2 separate regions of the Homo sapiens genome follow, and region 1 is linked to region 2. Evidence: promoter capture Hi-C in 16 types of primary human blood cells and fetal thymus (Javierre and others, 2016). All regions are on one chromosome and are shown on one strand. Each heading gives the region's core, a stretch centred on a gene start or on the middle of the fragment in contact. The rest is flanking DNA. Distances are from core to core; before and after follow the strand shown. Region 1 overlaps UBASH3B (ubiquitin associated and SH3 domain containing B). Region 2 holds the start of CRTAM (cytotoxic and regulatory T cell molecule).

Evidence for each region. The method cuts DNA at HindIII sites, captures the fragments that hold promoters and counts their contacts. A CHiCAGO score of 5 or more calls a contact.
Region 1: a fragment that was not itself captured here is called in contact with the fragment with the promoter of CRTAM in region 2 in 2 of 17 cell types (naive CD8 T cells and total CD8 T cells); the score reaches 6.9 in naive CD8 T cells.

What each region holds. Positions count from the first base shown.
Region 1 is chr11:122,788,682-122,793,953 of GRCh38, reverse strand. UBASH3B (ubiquitin associated and SH3 domain containing B) reads right to left here. Exons shown (of 14, transcript NM_032873.5): 6 at 4,646-4,854. Among named protein-coding and RNA genes, the nearest start is that of CRTAM, 47 kb to the left of the region's middle. The HindIII fragment of the contact is 4,369 bases long and covers 1,689-5,272 here.
Region 2 is chr11:122,836,938-122,842,422 of GRCh38, reverse strand. CRTAM (cytotoxic and regulatory T cell molecule) reads right to left here and starts at 3,923. Exons shown (of 10, transcript NM_019604.4): 1 at 3,831-3,923. The coding sequence starts at 3,876. The HindIII fragment of the contact is 4,925 bases long and covers 3,566-5,485 here.

The sequences.
Region 1 (5,272 bases), core at 2,624-5,123, 48 kb after region 2:
ATTTTCACCATCTCCACCTCAGCCAGTGGCTCCTAACAGTCAAGGAAACTTTGTGCCAAAGTCCCCTATTCTACCCTCTTCGGTCTCCAAACCCTATCTCCCCCTCAATCACGCCTCCAACAAGATGATTACAAATAGAATTATTTCAGAGAAGACCATTCTCACCAGACGTTTAGAGCTGTGAGCCAAGAACTGTCATTTCTGAGTGTAACACTATAGCTACAGAAGCCTAAAAGAGGTCTTGCTGAAAGGAAGACAGTCAAAACCTGCCAAGCTTAAATTATTGTCAATAGTTAAGACTTCCACAAAGCTTTATCTAATAAACATTGCAATGTAAATATGGTTGTTAGGCAAATCCAGTGAACATCTTTGGAATCACTGAGCAGAGTCCAGGGGAAACATTTAAATTTTATAGATTTCTTGCTTCTTTACAATTTGGGTAGCCATCCATCCCAGTTTGCTCCATATACTCCTGGCTTGCATCTGTTGATGAGGCAACCCGTTTAGGCTACCACCTGTTCTGGATTATTCACTTTTAACATTGTATTATCAGAATTTTATTTTATTTTAGAGACGGAGTATTGCTCTTGTCGCCCAGGCTGAAGGGCAATGACATGATCTGGGCTCACTGCAACCTCCACCCTGCAGGTTCAAGCGATTTTCCTGCCTCAGCCTCTGGAGTAGCTGGGATTACAGGCGTGCGTCACCACGCCCGGCTAATTTTTGTATTTTTAGTAGAGATGGGGTTTCACCATGTTGGCCAGGCTGGTCTCAAACTCCTGACCTCAGGTGATCTGCCTGCTTGGCCTCCCAAAGTCATGCTGGGATTACAGGAGTGAGCCACTGCACCTGGCCCATAATTTTATTTTTGAAAATACCTTTTTATATTCACCAATATAATACAGCAAACTGGTTGTTAGTAAATTTTTGTTCCTTCACTTTCAGAAGTGGCTCCTTTTTCACTAGAAGTGATAGACTCATTCTATCTACTTATAAACGAAGTCTCAGAAGTCTCATGCCCTGAAAAACTGATTTTGAACCCTTGTGCATATCAGAATCACCAGGAGACTTAAAAAAAATACACTCGTGCTGGGGTTCTGCTCCTCACACATTGTGACTCAGTAGGTCAGGGGTGGGACCCAGGAACCTACAGTTCAACAAAGCAGCATCAGTCCATCTGCGTATGTTGCCAAGTGAAACCTGTTACAGTAAAATTTAAGTAACTGTAGCCCAAGGAAATCTTGTGCCGTTCACACAGTATAATAGACCAGCTATTCTACTTTATTTTAAACTAAGACCCTCCCAAACATCACACAGTTCAAGAAAATCCAGTTTGGCTGGGCACAGCGGCTCACGTCTGTAATTCTAGCACTTTGAGAGGCCGAGGCAGGCAGATCACCTGGGGTTAGGAGTTCAAGACCAGCCTGGCCAACGTGGTGAAACCCCGTCTCTATTCAAAATACAAAAATTAGCTGGGCGTGGTGGCACACACCTGTAGTCCTGGCTACTCGGGGGGCTGAGGCAGGAGAATCACTGGAACCCAGAAGGCAGAGGTTACAGTGAGCTAACATTGCACCACTGTGCTCCAGCCTGGGCAACAGAGTGAGACTCCATCTCAGAAAAAATTAAAAAAAAAAAAAAGAAAAAAAAAAAGAAAATCCAGTTTTATTGTCTGACTCATCAAAGCTTCAGGGTGCAAAATGTCTGGCTACCTAGAATCGTTCTTGTACATATCTGTTTGTTTCTTTATCGCAGCTGTGAAGATACTGATAGGATCCCTTCTCTCCCTCCTTCGTCTCCCATGGCAAGACGAATGCCAGCCTCTTTCCCTTCTTAACTGTCATTATAATCAAAGGACCTGACTCACTCTGAGACAGCGTGGAGCTGCCAGTTCCAGTAAGAAAACAGTCAGATGCTTCTTGCTCAGAACAGTGGAGGGAGGAAGCCGGGCCTGACATCCAGAACATCTCAAGCATCGGGAGAGCTGGCTTCTCCCTGCAACACACCAGGCCTGTGCTAAGCCCAAGCGGCCAGGCAGCTCACCCAGCTTCATCAACTTGTCTTGGTTCATAACTCAGAACCAAGTAAGACACTCCAGTTAGTGTGGAGAGAACATATTTCCTTAGGAGGGACTCAGAGAACTGAGAAGCACTTGGCAGGGAGTGTTGTCAAAATCATTGACCCCCAGTCATGACTTGTTGCCTGGATCCCCTGGGCAACTCCCACCATGCCAGCCAGGCCATGCTTGACATCCCCCTGGGGCTCTACCTCCTGATGTCTCTCTTGGGTTAGGAGAGAGAGAAGGTCTGTGTCTGTCTTACAAGGAAGCTGGGCTCTGCCTCCTTGAGTCATTTGACCTCTGGGGTTAAATAGGAAAGTGCAGTTCATCTACAGGATTGCTTTTATGGAAGACACATTTCCTTTGATGAGCACTAAGTGAGGACTGGCAAACACAAGATAGAAAAAAGAGAATAATCATCATTATGCAAATGGCGATTTTATAGTCACCGCTATACACCAGACTCTGAACCATGTAAAGCTAAGCTCTGTATTGCAGTCTTCCCAACAACCTTATGAGGTAAGTGCAATTATTAGTTCCATTTTCTAGATGAGCAAACAGAGGCTCAGAGAGGTAATGCAACTTTGCCAAGGCCACACAGCTGGTAAGTGGGAGAGTTATCGTTTAAATCCAAGACTATTGGAATCCAGTCTCAAATTCTTAATCACAATAAACTAATGCCTAACTTATTTACCTACTTTGAGCAGGGTTGGCTGTGGAAGCTGTTAGTTTAATTTCAGACATTGTTCTCAGAGACATGACATCATTAGTAATCTCTCGAATAAAAGATGACACAAAGACCTCCCTGGGACGCACTGACCGAAGTCACTCAGGTTCACCTATACATCGGCCTGAGTTGTAATTTAGGGAAGAGTGGGTTTGGATGGAGTGAACTCTAAGAGATCAGCACTGCTTCTCATATACCTCCACTTTTTTTTTTTTTTCAGACAAAGTCTTGCTCTGTTGCCCAGGCTGGAGTGCAGTTGCGTGATCTCAGCTCACTGCAACCTCCACCTCCTAGGTTCAAGTGATTCTCCTGCCTCAGCCTCCTGAGTAGCTGGGACTACAGGTGTATGCCACCACGCCCAGCTGATTTTTTTTTTTATTTTTGGTAGAGACGCGGTTTCACCATGTTGGTTTGGCAGGTCTTGAACTCCTGACCTCAAGTGATCCACCCACCCTGGCCTCCCAAAGTGCTGGGATTACAGGTGTGAGCCACCGCACCTGGCCATACACCCACTTTTAAGAAAGAGATCTGATAAAACAGCAACTCCAAGTACTGTAAAATAAAAAATAACAGATCTGAGAACTGTGCTTTGTCAGGCAAATAATGTTTTAGTTCTCAGTTTATTCACGCATATTTTGCTTTACTTGTTGTTGTAGGGATTAAAATGGAGACTTTGGAAACCCAGCTTATATATTTTGATCTTCCAAAGCATTTCTGAAAAAGCAAAATGTTTGGGGAACATAAGACAGCTTTGACCTCTAATTTTGTGCCATCCAATTCTGGAGGCTCATGGGCTGGGCTGAGGTGGGAGCAGAGTGAGGGAGAGGGGGAGGGATTGCTGGGTGGGGTTATTGAGGAAGAAAATATTCTTTCCCATCTTTGGATTTGTGGTTTGTCTGTTTGTGGCTCACTAGGGTAGGGGACCTTTATTTTCTCCTTCCAGGCAAAAGACTTGATGAAATCATCTCTCTCTGCTTCTCCTTTATGGCAATAATAACAATATTAGCCACCAAGCAGCTGGCGCTCAGGGCTTCTGCCTCTCAGCCATGTTGCCACATGACAAAAACAAGTGGGAGAAAAACAAACCAGCATGCAGACCCTGGCTAGATGCCCCAGTGTGCCAGGGAAGCGCTGGCTTTGAGCTGCTCCAACTAAGAAAGAGAAGATGGCTTTTGTTTCTATTTTATCTATTGGGACAAAGTTGGCCACTGAATGTGGTACCAGTATGGAATGGGGGCAAAATAGTAATGAGGGACGGGTGGAAAGTTATTACCCTAAAGAAGACTGGCAGAGGGGAGGGGGGAAATGGACCCCTTTTCAGTCTGGCAGTTGCCTGTTCCCTTAGACATGGTCTTTGTTGTCTAGGCATGCATAGGCTGTGTCTGGGGACTTGCTCAGGGTCACTTAGCAAATCAAGGATACAGTTAGGGCTCCTGCCTCTTGAAACCCCCTTCTCTATTGGTCTGGATGGCAGGGTAGTAATCCGCCCAGCTGCTTCGGGAAATCAGACCACCCTGACTCATGACCCAGGATAAGGTGGACAGAAGCCCTAAAGCAGTGAAGACGCAGCACTGGGATGATGCCACTCTTCGGCCAGAAGAGATGGACCCCAAGCCACCTCAGTTTAGTCTCTGATCAGGAACTGAAGCAGACAACCATGGCAAATGGGGCAGGCAGAGGGAAGCAGAGCAATCCATTTCGCATTTTCCCCATGCCTCAAATCAGCTCCTTTCCTGGAATTCTGGAATCCACAGGGCCTTCTTCCCATGGACTCCATTTACTGCTGCCCTGTGTATCCAGGATCCAGTCTGCCTTAGCAACATTCTTCAAATGGCATAAAGGTCTTTGTGTCTGCTTACCCATGAAATATCCAGGTGCTGCATTCATCAGCCTTGGTAATGTAATTCTCAGGCAGGAGTCCAGAGCAGCCGGTGGTTAAGGACGTGCCATAGATCCAACCCTCGCTGGTGCTGGTCTGCTCCATTGGAGACATGAAGATGAAGTCCCCGGGGACCAGCTCCAGCTCATCGTCATTTTGTGGGGTATAGGGGTAGATGACCTGTAATGTCTGGAAAAGGAAGAGAGGGTGAGTGAGCCCCATGCCTCACCATTCTCCTGAGCGCCTTGAGGGCAGGACTGTATGTTCTGCATTAATACTGCACACCTCCAGAGGGCGATGTGCCCAGGAGCCCTTGGGGTCTGCAGGCCCTGAGTAGATGTGAATTCCTATCAGAGAGCACTTCTCTCTTCAGGGTATTGACGGTGTATGCCTGGTGCTAGAAATGGTTTCATACTTTTCTTCAGGCATGTCTAGATTTCCCATCAGGATTCAAGTATCGTTTTTGGAAATTGACCTGAAATCCTGTAGGCTCTCTGGCCAACTGCTGTATAAATGGACATGGACCTAGCTTCCCTTGCTTCATCTGATAGTCACCATGATAGACACCTGAAACCCAGCTCATGGAAAGCCAGTCTTCCATACGGGG
Region 2 (5,485 bases), core at 2,674-5,173:
ACCTGTAATCCCAGCTACTCTGGAGGCTGAGGCAGGAGAATCACTTGAACCTGGGAGGTGGAGGTTGTGGTGAGTGAGATTGTGCCATTGCACTCCAGCCAGGGCAACAAGAATGAAATTCCATCTCAACAAACAAACAAACAAACAAACAAACATATAACCCATGAATTTGATTATGTCTCTTCCTTCATTCAAGTGTTTGCTATGGCTTCCATTGCCTATAGGAATCAGGCCCAAATTCCAGCCGACTTGACTCCTGTGTTCTCCTCCTTTGCCATGTCGTGATACTCCTTTTCAGATAGTCCTTGTACATGTCCACTTGCTGTTTCCAGAAAGTTCCAGGCTCCAGAAGATAGTTTGTCTTTTTCTATGATATTCTCTTGTCCTGGAATGTCTTTCTCATCTCCTTCAAGACTCAACATTAAGACCCAACTCAAGACTCAACTTATAGGCTCAACTCAAATTACACAACTTTTGTCAAAACTTCCAAAACAGGCCTTAGCTTCCCTTTTCCCCATAATGTCTTTCCCCTAGTTTCCCAAAGTCTTGAGATATACTTCTATTACAGCACTTAGCACATTACTTTATAATTATTTGGTTACAGGTGTTTCTCTGTAGATAGATTACAAACTCCTTATGGAAAAGCTGTTTGCCATCCACTCATTTTAGCATAATGTAAAATTTTAGATATTGGTTGAATTAGTGGATAAAAATGAGTAAATAGGCCGGGCTCGGTGGCTCACACCTGTAATCCCAGCACTTTGGAAGGCTGAGGCAGGCGGATCATGAGATCAGGAGATCGAGACTATCCTGGCTAACATGGTGAAAGCCTGTCTCTACTAAAAATACAAAAAATTAGCCAGGAGTGGTGGCGGGTGCCTGTAGTCCCAGCTACTCGGGAGGCTGAGGCAGGAGAATGGCGTCAACCCGGGAGGTGGAGCTTGCAGTGAGCTGAGATCACACCACTGCACTCCAGCCTGGGCGACGGAGCAAGACTCTGTCTCAAAAAAAAAAAAAATAGAGTAAAAGTATATATTTAGGAATAAATATTATAATAGGATGCTAACTTTGCTCTTTAACTGTTATATCAAATAATAAAGACTAGGGCTAAGTTAAAGCCAGAGACATGCAATGCATTAATTCTCAAATCAGAGCCCTAGTTACATGACTGTCATGAGGCATTAAGCAAAAGTGTGTTTTAATTCAGATCATTACAAAAAAAGATTTTTATTATTTTTAGATTGAATCAATAGAGAAAATTGCAGGTATAAAAATAAATCAGACTTGTCAGAATCGGAATATTTTTAGTACATTTTAAAGAAGCTGTCTCAACATGTCATCTAACATGTGACTTTTTCCTGGGCAAAGAAAGTATGAAAAGAACTACTCAATTTGCAATTTTCCTTTGTTTTCTGCATCCTACCCTCCACAAAACAATGAAAACAGAGGGTTCAAAATTCATTGGATTTGACATTTTCATTGTCTACAGTGTAATTTAATGGGATGAATTTTGAAAAATGCTTCATTTTTATTGTGTTTTTACCAGTCCTAAGACTATTTATTCTGGGAGTGGCCTTGAAAAGAGGGCAGGCTCTGAGATTACGTGACTTTTTTTTTTTCCATAAATTTTTGGCAGCCATAGAAGTAACACTGTAGAAGTAGTCACAGTGATCTTCCCATAATTTAATTTGCTAAAATCAGCTGACAGTTTATAGCTTTGCCAAAACTGATGATTTGCTGCCTTTTTTGCTGACAAGAAAGCAACATGGTCACCTCCTCCTAATTACGTCTGGGATGGGCTTGAGCAAGGTTAGGTCAGGGGTGGCAGCCACTGCTCAAATGCCATTGAGCTTAGATGCCCTCGGGTGGCCCCTTGAACGAGTTTTCAAATAGGACTTTTTAATATTGAATCCTCCAAATTGTGAAAGTCAGTGGTTTTCCAACTTTTGATCCACATTAATACATTTTCTGTCACAACTAGTACACACACACACACACACACGTTAATTAGAAGTTTCATGAAATAAATACTTTTACTATGTGCTTTATAGGCTGGTATTTATGTTGTCATATTCTAGCTTTAAAACTTGGGCAGGTTACATAACTTCTTTTCTCATCTTTAAATTGGGGATATTAGTACCTACCTCAGTACTTCCGCTATGATTAAGTGTAATTAACACAAAGTACTCAGCACTGTGCATGAAACAATATTTTTCCTCTCTATATAAATAATATTTAAGTAATTTAGGTTTACCTTGAAACATAATTTTTGCTATTTATTTAAAAAATGTATTTTTATGAGTTATTTTTTATGAGGCAATAACTCAAAGCCTGAAAAAGTTAAGGTCAGTGAAAGGCTTTAAACTCTGGAAAAATTGAAATCATCCTAATTTTAGCTGTCTAAATGTACTCTTTTTGAATGTATTAGCTATTCTTTAAGCCACTTAATGAAGAAACTAATATTATTCATTACCAAAATTGAATCCTTATTAAGTGCCTCAGGGTACAGGGACCAAAAAAAGAAGGCATTAATTGAAGTATATAAAATAGGGAATTGAAGTACTATGTAAAATAGGAAATCGAGTTTTTTAAAGTAGCGTCCTTCAGATGCCATTCCAGATTAAATGTAGATTTAGAAGGATAGGTGCATTTCATGAAACAGAACTACAGTTTCAATATTTGGTAACAAACACACAAAAAGCAAAATTTTTGAGTGGATTTGTGAGGGATGTCCTTTGCATGAATCTGATACAATTGTAAGCAGAGACTGAGGGACAACAGGAGCCACTTCCTACACCCCTGCCCCCACTTTTGGGTAGAAAATAATTTGACCTGCTCCAAAAAGGTAACTGCTTCTATCCTTAATTTTCATAATGCTACATTAGGATTAAGCACTAAAATCCAAATTTGAAAATTATAGTAAAATGTAAAGTATAACTTACTCTTTAAAAATAAACACGAAGTTTTCATTGGTCTCATTATTACCTCTGAGCTAAATAAGTGTTGCACAGCGCTTTATCATTTTCAAAGTGCTTTCACATTTGAAATTTGATCCTTCTAACAATCCAGGGAGTTTGGTGGATCAAAAGTTTTTATCATTTTCATTTTAAGATGCAGAAACTGAGTTTCAAAGAGATTAAATCGTTTGGCTAAGATTTATACAGCAAGGAAATTTTAAAATTCAACGTGGAGGCCGGGCGCGGTGGCTTACGCCTGTAATCCCAGCACTTTGGGAGGCTGAGGTGGGCAGATCACGAGGTCAGGAGATTGAGACCATCCTGGCTAACACGGTGAAACCCCGTCTCTACTAAAAATATAAAAAAATTAGCCGGGCGTGGTGGTGGCGGGCACCTGTAGTCCCAGCTACTTGGGAGGCTGAGGCAGGAGAAAGGCGTGAACCCGGGAGGCGGAGCTTGCAGTGAGCCGAGGTCGTGCCGCTGCACTCCAGCCTGGGCGACAGAGCGAGACTGTGTCTCATAAATAAATAAATAAATAAAATAAAATAAAATTCAATACGGATGCTCTTTCAACTGGTATGCCCTTAAAAGACAGAGCCTAATAAGCTTGTTTCATCTTGCCGTAACATAGGACCCACAGAGACACACACTATAATGATCCTTTCTATACTCCTTAGCCATTGAACGAGAGATCAAATAAACGCAGTAACATCCCTCAGATGCATGATTTGAGCATGGCTTGGAAAGTATTAGCAGTTACCTGGGTTGTCTTCTACAGCAGCTCCTCTGTAAATGCAGTTGACTGACTGATAGGTAGATGTGGCAAAACATTAAGTCAGCTGAGCAACAACAAAAATAACTCTAAGTCCTTACCTTGCAAGGGGAACCATGCCAGCAAGCTGAGAACTCTCCACCACATACTGTGCTGTGCTGCTGTGGCACCTTTGTCAACTTCCTCTAGATTCTGAGACAAATGGAGCTGAGTAGTTTCTTTTAAAGGGGGAGAGGCAGTAGATCTGTGACCTCATGTGTATCAACTCCTCCATCTGTCTGGAAGCCCCCTCTTAGTTAGCTGCCCCCAGAACACCTCCTGGTGGAACATTTTGGGGACCACATGTATTATCTTGATGGCAGAGAGGTGTGAGTGATGTGTTGGTGACAAAAATTGTTTTACCACAAGTGGGTAGTACTGGTAAATCAACTAGTTGCAAGGTTTTTAGAGGGAGCATGGGTGGGAGAAATACTGTAAAATGTCCCTGTGTAGTGACGTCATCCTTATTTTTACTTTTCTAGTTTATTAGATAAATACAATTAGATAATTTTTGCTCAACCTTTGGGAATATTTTATTTCTATGCTGACATCAATTTATAATTGTTGTCGGGGAGGAATTCATTCATTCATATAGATATACTCATTTTTGAAATCTATATATCTGTCCACCCACCCATCCACCCATCTTTTCATCCACCCACTCACAAATACAAATCTATTCATCCACCTATCCATCCATCCATCCTTCCATCCATCCACCCACACATCCATCCACCCATCCATTTATCCTTCCATCCACCCACTCACTCATGTATTACCTGCCCACTCATTCCCCATCCACCCATCCATCCATCTATTCATCCACACATCCATCCATCTCTCCATCCATCCAGCCAGCCAGCCATCCATCTATTTATCCATCCATCTATCCATCTATCCATCCATCCATCCATCCATCCATCCATCCATCCATCCATCCATCCATCCATTTATCCACCCATCCATCCATTCACCCATCCATCTATCCATCCATCCATCCGTCCATGACCTATTCATTCACCCACCCATCTATCTATACATGCAAATACTCATCCATCCACCCAACCACCCATCTATCTATCCACCCACGCATTCATCCATTCACCCACTCATTCATCCATTTACCCACCCATCTATCTATACATATGTCCGTCCGTCCATCCATCCATCCATCCATCCATCCATCCATCCTTCTATCCACCCATTCATCTTGTCACCTGTACAGCATCTAGTATGCACTACTTTGAGACATGCTCAAATAAAAAACATAAATTCCTTGTTTTTCAGGAGAATATAATCTAGTGGGGGAGACAATGTACATATGAACAGTTCTGGTATTTAATTTTCATTAATTGGACAAATTGAGATAGATTTAATGTAGTTTTTCCAGGAGCACACAGTAAAATATTAGTAAGTTTATGTTTAGAAAACAGAGATCAGTCTGCAATGCTTGGAAAATGAAAAGGAAACACTACTTACTGGCTCTAATTGAAATTAGTGTTAATACTCTGATAAATTTGATGAAGTTTGGGTAGGAAAAGTCTTACTCATCAAAAATGTCTTCCAAATATTTTGTTGGCTGGGCACAGTGGCTCATGCCTGTAATCTTAGCATTTTGGGAGGCTGAGGTGTGAGGATCATCTGAAGCCAGGAGTTCAAGACCAACCTGGGCAACATAGTGAGACCCCCATCTCTACAAAAAATACAAAAATTAGCT